Regions from separate parts of the Homo sapiens genome. Here region 2 is linked to region 1. Evidence: promoter capture Hi-C in 16 types of primary human blood cells and fetal thymus (Javierre and others, 2016). All regions are on one chromosome and are shown on one strand. The core of a region is centred on a gene start or on the middle of the fragment in contact, and the rest is flanking DNA. Distances in the headings are between cores, read along the strand shown.

What was found. The method cuts DNA at HindIII sites, captures the fragments that hold promoters and counts their contacts. A CHiCAGO score of 5 or more calls a contact.
Region 2: a contact is called between a fragment that was not itself captured here and the fragment with the promoter of CADM3-AS1 in region 1, in 1 of 17 cell types (total B cells). The highest score is 6.7, in total B cells.

The regions. Positions count from the first base shown.
Region 1 is chr1:159,200,443-159,205,524 of GRCh38, reverse strand. It overlaps CADM3-AS1 (CADM3 antisense RNA 1), which reads left to right and starts at 3,103. Exons shown (of 4, transcript NR_037870.1): 1 at 3,103-3,275; 2 at 3,904-4,713. CADM3 (cell adhesion molecule 3) reads right to left here. Exons shown (of 9, transcript NM_001127173.3): 9 at 2,212-4,721. The coding sequence ends at 4,603. It overlaps ACKR1 (atypical chemokine receptor 1 (Duffy blood group)), which reads right to left and starts at 650. Exons shown (of 2, transcript NM_002036.4): 1 at 545-650; 2 at 1-64. The coding sequence starts at 565. The HindIII fragment of the contact is 9,224 bases long and covers 1-5,082 here.
Region 2 is chr1:157,967,232-157,972,313 of GRCh38, reverse strand. No RefSeq gene overlaps it. Among named protein-coding and RNA genes, the nearest start is that of KIRREL1, 24 kb to the left of the region's middle. The HindIII fragment of the contact is 1,023 bases long and covers 1,898-2,920 here.

The sequences.
Region 1 (5,082 bases), core at 1,854-4,353:
AAGAATTCCATACATCTTCGAAGTCCAGCTGACTTGAGTTCTCAGTTGAGGGGGAGAGCTCCGCCTGGAGGACATACCCAGAGGAGGCCATCAGAGTTACACCGGAAGAGTCTCCTGGGAATTGAGGGGCAGGTGGGAGGGGAGGACAGAGAGGAAGGTCGGGTGGGAGAACAAGGTCTCTGCAGGAGTCAGATGCAGTGCGGACAGTGGAAAAGGACAAAGCAGGGAGCCTGAAGAGCCGGAGCAGGAACAGTCCTGGGGAAGCCAGGGCAGCTGGGGCTGGAGGAGCAGTGCAAGGTCAGAAGGAAAAGGCACCAAGAGACCAGGATGGAACTGACTCAAAGGCAAAGGGAGGGACACAAGAGGGAGCTAGGAGGCTAGCATAGGAAGGAGAGAAGGAAAAAGACTTTGAAGGAAGAGGAAAAAAGCAGGAAGGGAGAAAAGATGAGGAGGAAAAGGAAGAGATATAAAGACTGAGGGGCAAACAGCAGGGGAAATGAGGGGCATAGGGATAAGGGACTCTGGGGCCTGGCCCCATACTCACCCTGTGCAGACAGTTCCCCATGGCACCGTTTGGTTCAGGCCCGCAGACAGAAGGGCTGGGACGGCTGTCAGCGCCTGTGCTTCCAAGATAAGAGCCAAGGACTAATGAGGGCCATCAGGTTCTGGGCAGGGACAGGGGGCATCAGGAAGCCTTACCCCACGCCCACTGCCTGCACAAGCCTCAGGCCTATGGGGGTCACTGGCCTTGGGTCTTCCTGTTTTGAGGTTGGATTTGGCTGGTTGGGACTACACTCAGGAAAAAGGTGGGGACCAGAAAGTGGGCATTTTACCGAAGTGGAAAGGGAGATTGAGAAAACAGGGGGCTTTCCAGCAAGTAGAGATTTTACCGAAGTGGAAAGGGAGATTGAGAAAACAGGGGGCTTTCCAGCAAGGAGAGATTCTTCAAGCACAAGGAAGGAAGAGAGGGGGGCTGGGTGACTTGTGAGGCAGAGATAAGGGAGGTGCTGGGAAATTGGAGTGGAAGGGCGGCTGACTCTCACTGCTCCTCCATCCCCTTGAACTGGATCCAAGGAAAGGCAGTTCAAAAGCCATGTGTTTGGGAGAAAGGTGGTGGTGGTCAACTCTGTCCCAACTGAGGGGTGTGTGCACGTGGGCGTGAGCTCTTTGTGTGTACTGAACTCTGTGTACGTTTGCTGTGTATCATTGTGCACATATCTGTATGTGAGGGGCTTGGCGGGTGTCTGGGTGTGTCTAGCTATCTCTAGGTCTGGGTGTTTCAGTGTGAGAGTGGGAGGGTTGGGGTGGCTGTCGAGGCTGCATAATGAAGCCATTTCAGGGAGCTATTGGGTGTTTGCCTAGCCACCTATGGGCTCAGTGCATGCCTCTTGCATATGAAGTGGAATACATGGTCTGACAAGTTAAAGTAGGCTCTAGGGGACAATGGGACAGCATATTTTAAAATGGGACCATTGCCCACAGGGTGATTTCTATTCATATTTCTACTGGGGGACATAAAGTCTCTGGAACTGTTTCATTGGCCAGGCATCTTAGCAATATGTAAAGTTTCTCACTGAGGGGCAGAGCTGGCCAGCAGAGAGAAAGGGCATCTACCCTGCAGGCAGGCCGATTCTCCCAAGCACATTTCACTTTTTTAGTGGCTTCTTCCCCCTCCCTCCCCTCCTCAGCTGTTTCCCCAGGATCGTCACTGTTTCATCACCCCTCTCTGCTTTTATTTCCTCAGCTAGGGAGACATAGTGGGGACTTTGGGAGCGGTGAGCCATGGCGTGTCCAAGTCAGAACAATGAGATAGAAAGGGCTGGTTAGGGGACGCTGTTTCATTTGTCCAAAACAGCATCGGCTGCTTCATCTCCAGTGTTGTTAAGGACCTTCTGTCCCATTCATGTAGGGCTTCCTAGGGGGCCAAGCACCTCAGACCTAAGGTGCAGAAGGATGGGTACCTCGTAGAGATTTCCCCCTTTTCTCCCAAGACACTAGCTCAAGTTTCAGGTTCAACATGAAGGGGCTGGAAAGTGAATTTGGTCTGGTGGTGTCTGGTGATGCTCTGCAGGGTGGGGTTGATGGCATCTCCATCGCCGTCTTAACATTCTCCAGCAATGCCTGGCAGAGGGTGGGGGGAAGCAGTCAGATGCCCCCCAAGACACTCTCTGGAAAGGAAGGGCTTAGCAAAAGGAAGTGAACACACTTCTCTCCCTTGTAGAGTTATATTGTTGCTGTACATAGATATTCTTGAGAGTGGCCTGGCAAGGGACACACCACCTTTTGAGGCACCAGGCACCAGGTGCAAGGGGTATGGGAAGAAGACCCTCACATACACACATCCCAGCAGCAGCAAGAGGACCAGAAAGGAGGCAGCTGAATGACACGGATAATCCAGATATATTGAGGGTGACCCCTCTGAGATTAGCACAGGAGAGTTAGAAAGATTATAAAGATACACGGTCCCCTCCCTGCTCCCTTCCCCCACCCCCCCACCCCTGGACAGACACACACAGCACAACAGCCCCTCTCCCTCCCACCCCCCCGTACAAATATGGCTTCTGTGTAATATGGACAGAGTGGTTCAGCTTGAAGAGGAAAAGTCATTTTCCCAAAAGCGGGTGCTGGGAGACAAGAAGCTCAACAGGCCTGGGGCCCCAGGGCTCTCTTGCTGTTGTAAGAGGAGTAGGCCCCGGCTTAGGTGAGGGGCTGCCTGTGGTGCCCAAGGCCCTAACCAGCGGCTGGAAGATTCACAACTGTATTACCTGAACTGAAGGGGGTGGGCAGGCCTGCTAGATTGCAGCTGCCCCTTTTTGCATGCCCATTGTCAGACCAGGGAGGAAAAGCTGGGGGAGGGTGGGAGCGATGCCAAGGGCATCCTGGATCTGAGGCGGGGCAGTCCAGCCAGGACAGGGAGGACCAGGAACCTCATCTCCACAGCAACCAGCTGGGGCCACGAGAAGGAAGACAGGAAATCAAAAGGAAGGGTGGGGACCCAGCCTTCAACTCACTGGGTACAGACTATGGGAAAAAATAGGTGGTGGTAGGTCTTTCCAGGGTCAACGCCAAGGAGAGGCCTGAGAGGTGCATAGCAAAGGCTGTGGCACTGACTCCATGGCTCAGAGGAGGGAAATCCAGGGAAGGGCTGAATGCTCTGTGTTTAAGGGAGAGATAGAATGGACAGCTGGGCAAACACACACCCGGGGACTCCTTTCTCCAAGACCGATGGGCATTGGGGGTGGCAGAGGAAATACCAGCATGGAACAACATCCCAGGTGAGGTGTGAACCCTGACTAGGAATACCCCATTCCCAAAGCCTCCCCAACATGTCCCACAGCCCTGTCCACTTGCCCAGGACCCCTGGCTCTTAGCCCTCCTCCTCAGTTCCTCGCTCTGCCTCTCACTCACTCACACACATGCACACACACACACACACATGCACACATGCATACACACCACACACATGCACACAGTTCACATTATTCCCTTAGTTTGGGCAGGAAACAGCTCACTGCAGTGAAGCTCCTTTTAGTAGTTTTGTTGTTATGTCTGCCTGGCTGCTGAGGGAGGAAGGATGAAGGGCTGGCGTTGGGACCAGGAAGGGGGCACAGGGTGGCCGGGAAGGGAGAAGTAGTTGCTGAGCAATGCCATGGGAGGAGTGGTTGCCGTGCAACAATCCAGAGTCTTGGGTAAGAGTGAGGGGCCCCTCAGGGGGGGAAGCAGAGGCAGTTCAGGCCCCAGAGCAGTGCCTCTCCCACTGCTGCTGGAGCAAGGAGGGGCAGCCACACTCTGCTATCTCCAAGGGCAGTTCCTATGGAAAGGGCCCGGCTTTGTTCATTTCCGGGGGGAATGGGGTGAGAGTCCACCTCCATCCTTCCTCTCCAAATCTACTCTTCCTTGCAGGGACCCGCGTCCTCCCCAGGTTACAGTCCTGGGTCCCTGCATGGCTGCATGTTGTCTGCAGGCCACATCTCCTCAGGACTCCCGCACTCATCACTTTCCCATTGCTATGGAAGAGAGGTGTCAAGGTGGCACCTGCCTCCCTGTCCGTAGTGCTCAGGTGTGTGGCTACCAGAGGAAAAGCCACTCCCAACCTTTGCCGACAACCATCCCGTTTCTGGGTTCCTGGAGAAGTCTGGGAAGCTGCTCTGTTGTAGAGGCTGAAAGGAGGGCTGGTGAGAGCCCCCAGCTGAAACCAGCCCTGCCCCTTACCCTTCCTCACCCCTCTACCTTCACTCTCCTCCTAACACTCCAGGGTTTTGTTTTTTGTTTGTTTTTTGCTTTTCTCACCCCAGGGCTCCTGCCTCTCCAGCCTGGAGACAGATTTGATTTGGGATTGTTACAAAAATAATAATAACCCAAATGCAGAGAAGCCACGGAAAGGGCTGAGGGCAACCCTCCCCTCCCCCCGCCCTCCTCCCTCCCCATTCCAAACCGAGTACAAAACCGCACCCAAAGCAGACATTCTGTACAGGGGGGTGGGTGGGCTGGGGAGCAAGCGGGAGGGGCGGCCCTGCGGTTGCTCTGTACAAGTCCGGGTTGGTGACGGCCCCAGCAGTCCCCACAGGGCCCCTGGGGGGCGCAGGAAGTGGGCAGGCGCCTCTAGATGAAATATTCCTTCTTGTCGTCCCCTCCTGACTGCCCGCCTTCTGCATTGATGATGGCCGTGTCCGCGTCTGGAGCATCGTCGGAGCCTTTTGCCTCATGTGTCAGGTAGGTTCCTGTGTAGAGACAGAGGCTTCTCCTCTCAGGAGCAGCTTCCCAACCTCTGAGTCCACCCTGCCCACTTTCTCACCCACCCACTCACACACTGCTCAAGTAATTTTTCTCTTGCCAATAGCTCTCTTCTACTCCACCTTACCTAATTCGCATTTTGCTTCCAACATGCCTCACCTGACCACACCCTTCATGAATAATGAATCCTACCCCTAAGTAGAATCTCATCTATAATACAAAGCAAGAAAGAGAAGTGTGTGTGTGTGTGTGTGTGTGTGTGTGTGTGTGTGCTTGCACGCATGCGTGTGTGTGTGTATGCATGCGTGTGCACGCAACTTGGTGACGGGGGATCTGCTATGTCAGCTT
Region 2 (5,082 bases), core at 1,160-3,659, 1.2 Mb after region 1:
AAAGAACTTGGCTGCATTGTGTCTGGGCCCAGGAGCTAGGGAAGGTTGAACTTAAGACTGATGACCTAGGGTATCTGGCAGAATTTCTAAGCAGCAAAGCATTCAAGATGCACATGGCTGCTTCTAACAGCCTATTATCAGATGTGAGAACAAAATAATGACTTAAAATTAGAAGTTATAATTAAAAGGGAAGCAGAGCATAAAACTTCTGCAAACTTACAACCCTGGATGGTAGAGAAGGAAAGAGCATTTTCAGAAGAGGAACACAAGCTGGCTGTGGAGCAAGCACTTGCTAGAGGGATTAGCATGACTAAAAGGGAATCAAGTGCTAATATCCAAGACAATGGGAAAAAGGTCTCAAAGGCATTTCTGAAATCTTTAAGGCAGGCCCTCCCATCACAGGCCAAGAGGCCTAGGAGGAAAGAATGGTTTTGGACACCAGGTGCAGGGCCCTGCTACTCTGTGTAGCCTGAGGATACAGCTCCCCACATCCTAGTCACTCAAGCTGCAGCCTTGGCTCAAAGGGGCCAAGATGCAGCTCAGGCTGCTGCTTTGGAGGGTGTCACTATAAGACTTGGTAGCTTCCACATGGTGTTAAGCCTGCAGGTGTGCAAAATGCAAGAATGAAGGAGTTTTGCCAGCTCCCGCCTAGATTCCAGAGGATGTATTAGAAAGCCTGTGTGCCCAGGCAGAAGCCTGTCACAGGGACAGAACCCCCACAGAGAGACTTTACTAGGACAGTGCCAAGGGGAAATGTGGGATTGGAGCCCCCACACAGAGTTTGCATTAGGGCACTGGCTAGTGGAGCTGTGGGAAGGAGGCCGCTGTCCTCTAGACCCATGAATGGGAGAGCCACTGGCAGCATGCACCCTGAATCTGAAAAAGCCACAGACACTTAACTCCAACCTGTGAGAGCAGCCACAGGGGCTGCACCCTGTAAAACCACAGGGGTGGAGCTGTCCAAGGCCTTGAGAGCCCACTTCTTGCATCAATGTGCACAGGATGCAGGACATGGAGTCAAAGATTGTTTTGGAGCTTTAAGAGGTAAGGATTGCCCTGCTGGGTTTCAGACTCCATGGTGCCTGTTGTCCCTTTCTTTTGGCTGGTATCTCCCTTTCAGAGTGGAATGTTTACCCAATACTGGTATCACCATTGTATCTTGGAAGTAAATAGGTTGTTTTTGGTTTTACAGACTCATAAATAGAAGGAACCTGCCTTGAGTCTCAGATGAGACTTTGGACTTTTGATTGAGTGGATGCTAGAATGAGCTAAGACTTTTGGGGACTATTGGGAAAAGATGGTTGTATTTTGCAATGTGAGAAAACCATGAAATTTAGGGAGCCAGGGTCTGAAAGATATGATTTGGATGTTCTGTCCCCTCCAAATCTCATGGTGAAATGTGACCTATAATGTTGAAGGTGGGCCTGGTGGGAGGTGTTTCAGTCATGAAGGCAGATCCTTCATCAATGGCATGATACTGTCCTTGTGGCAATGAGTGAGTTCTCACTCTGTGAGTTCACATGAGACCTGGTTGTTTAAAAAAGCCTGGCACTATCTCCCCTCTCTCTCTTGCTCCTTCTCTTGCCATGTGATACACTGACTTCCCCTTTACTTTCCACCATGATTGGAAGGTTCCTGGGGTCTTACCAGGAGCAGATGCCAGTAACATGCTTCTTATACAGCCTGCAGAACCATGAATCAAAATATGCCTCTTTTCTTTATATATTACCCAGCCTCAGGCATTCCTTTACAGCCATGTGAAATGGACTAACAGAAATACTTTGAAAAGATAAGTCCTAAACCAAGTCTTGAAAGATAAGTGATTTTTATCCAGGGGAAGAAAGAAGGGAATGGTATTTCAAGTAGAAGGGAGAATATAAATCAAATCATGGAAGCTTGAAACAGCTTGTTGTGTGTGGAAATCACAAAGAGAGCAGCATTTCTTTTCAAGAGCTGAACTGCCTGGGTGTGACTCCCAGACTCTCTGCAAGATATGTGACCTTGGGCACATTACTAAACCACTAGGTGAATCAGTTTCCCCAGTCATAAAGTGGGGAATATCATAGTGTCTGCCTCATAGGGTTGTCATGAGAAGGAAACAAATCAATTCACGTGAAGTGCTTGGGACAGTGTCTGGCACATCGTAGATGCTCAATAAATGATAGCATTTCTTATCATTGGGTGCAGACAGTGAGGCAGGGATTAGATGGAATATGAGATTGAAAATGTAATTAGCTGGATGTAGAAGGTCTTGTATGCCATACCCAGGGTTTTGACTTTGTCCTGGCAACACCAGGAGCCACTGCAGGATTGTAGGCTAAGGAACAATATGATGGGATTTGGTGTTTCAAGTGGCTCACTATGGCCACCTAGTGGAGGATGGTCAAGGGGAGGAAATTTGGAGGCAGGTTTTAGAAGACCTGGCTGTATATTCTGGCTCAACACTTAACCAGTGTATGAATCATTTCCTTCTTTGAGCCTCAATTTAATAATCTGGGAAGTAGGAATTGTAAAACATATCCAAAGGGCTGCGGTGAGGAGAAAATTAAATAACAGAATGAAAGTCCCTAACCCAGTGCATGACACATATAAATAGGTTTGCAATGAATATTTGTTTTGATTTTAATATCAGAAATCTTACAAGAGAGGAGCAAAAAGCCTCACAGTTTCCCCATCTTTATGCTCTGTCCCACCAGGCCAGCTCTCCTTGCTTCTATAAATGTGCTAGAAACAGTCGAACTGGCTCACAGACCTACACGGTGAGTATCATCCTTACTCTCTCCTACTGCACTCTTCTCACCTCCATAGCTGTCCAGTTCACCCTGATTCAGTGGTCAGAACCCTGACCTCTTTCTAAAGCATCTGCCATATCCAAGGCTAAGACCACATCCACCAGGCTGGAAAGTGGGTAAGGAAAGCTTCTGATGTAACAAGTCTTTTCTTTGTCTGCTGATTGTCATCAGAGAGCTGTTGTTTTTCAATTGACCCTCACCACATTCAATACCTGTTGTTTTACACAATCTTTTTGCAGCACCTCTGTCTTATCTCCCCTAATAGTCTGTACGATTCTAGAAGGCACAGACTGCACAGTAAACATGTCTTAGGACCTGCCTCTTGCTCATGGCAGAGGCTTGCCAGGGAATGAATCGAATGAAGAGTTGACTGATGCTCACACAGTGCTGAAAGCCTGCCAAGCTGTGAATAAGTATGAGTTGGTTTGATTATGAAAGATGGGAAATCATGTCTTCTTTTCTAGAGTGGAACATAAAGCTTCCCAGCCTCCTCAGGCTTGCTCAGGCAGAGCAGGCAGAGCTGTGACCTGTGGGCCCAGAATTGTACCCTTGATAATCTAAATGACAATCAGCTTATTAAGCCTCACAGTCCCCTGTGCAAGCTGATGAAGGAGGGTGGGCGCCTCAGTGGTCAACAACCGTTCAGGGATCTCCTCCCAACAATGGCTCTGTGCCTCTACAAGGCAGTTTGAAACACACACAGAAAACCAGCCGATTTACACACTCTTCTTCCTGCTGTTCCCTTGGCACACATTTTGTGCTGACGTGACAGCCACAGGAACAGATGTCTGTTTGGCCTCTGGGGAGGCAGAGGAAACTCAGGCCACATCTGAAGCTCCTCCCCTTCTTTCCAGGCCACCTGGAACCCAGGCCATGAGTCATGTAGGACCAGTTCAGGGATATGGTCCAGGAAGGCTACAAGGAGTGGGGGTGATGACAGTTGGAGAAAAGAATCAAAGGCGTTGGCACGGAAGGGGAAGTTGAAGGACTCTCTGGCCCAGCTCTCGGGTCATTAAATAGTATTATTGCTCCGGTTTTGTAGTGAAGTAACTGAGGCCTGAGGTGGGTGAGTGACCTGAGCGAGGCAAACGCTCCATGTGTGTAGAGAAGAGAGAAGATGGTGGCAGCTCAGGCCTGCTGCAATGTCCATCACTGCCACCTGCTTCTGACTAAAGATGTCGGTGGTGGTGATGGAGAGGGGATATTGGAGAGGATGTTGTTACCTCAGACCAGGTTAACCAGTAAAGGTGAGTGTGCATACGTGTTTGTGGGTGTGACCTGCTCTTCAATACTCAACTTCAGAGGTCCACTTCTACAGGATACTACTGCTGCTGTCACACCTAATGATAATAATAATGGTAATAACAAAGGCCAACAGAGCGATTGAGCACTTACTATGTGCCAGACATGGTGCTCAGTGCATTACACAGATTACCACATTTAATCCTCTAAGAGGTTGTTCTTATTATTCTTACCCCGTTCCATAGCTGAAGAAAACGAAAGATAAGTTTAGGAACCTGCCCACAGATATACACTAGATTCTTGGTTAGATTGGGTTGCTATGACAAATACCATAGACAGGATGGCTTAAAAATCAGAAATGTATCTCTCACAGTTTTGGATACTGAAAGTCCAAAATCAGGGTGCCAGCAGATGGGGTCCTGAGCCGCTCTTCTGAGCTTCAGAAGATGGGGTCCTGAGCCGCTCTCTGAGCTTCAGCAGATGGGGTCCTGAGCCGCTCTCTGAGCTTCAGAAGATGGTGTCCTGAGCCGCTCTTCTGAGCTTCAGAAGATGGGGTCCTGAGCCGCTCTTCTGAGCTTCAGAAGATGGGATCCTGAGCCCCTCTCTGAGCTTCAGCAGATGGGGTCCTGAGCCCCTCTCTGAGCTTCAGAAGATGGGGTCCTGAGCCGCTCTCTAAGCTTCAGCAGATGGGGTCCTGAGCCACTCTCTGAGCTTCAACAGATGGGTCCTGAACCCCTCTTCTGTGCTTCAGCAGATGGGTTCTGAGCTTCTTGCTGGATCTCTTGCTGTGTCCTCACATGGTGGAGAGAGAGAGAGAGAGAGAATCTCTTTTGTGTATTTTAGGGCACTAATCCCATTCATGAGGGATGCACCCTTATGACCTAATCACCTCCCAAAGGCACCACCTCTAAATACCATTACATTGGGGATTAGGGCTTCAGCAAATAAAGTTTTGGGGAATGCATGCATTCAGTCCACAGCAGTTCCTAGATTCACAGGACCAGAATTTGCATGTGGAGTAGTCATTAAGATTGTTCACAAATCCTTT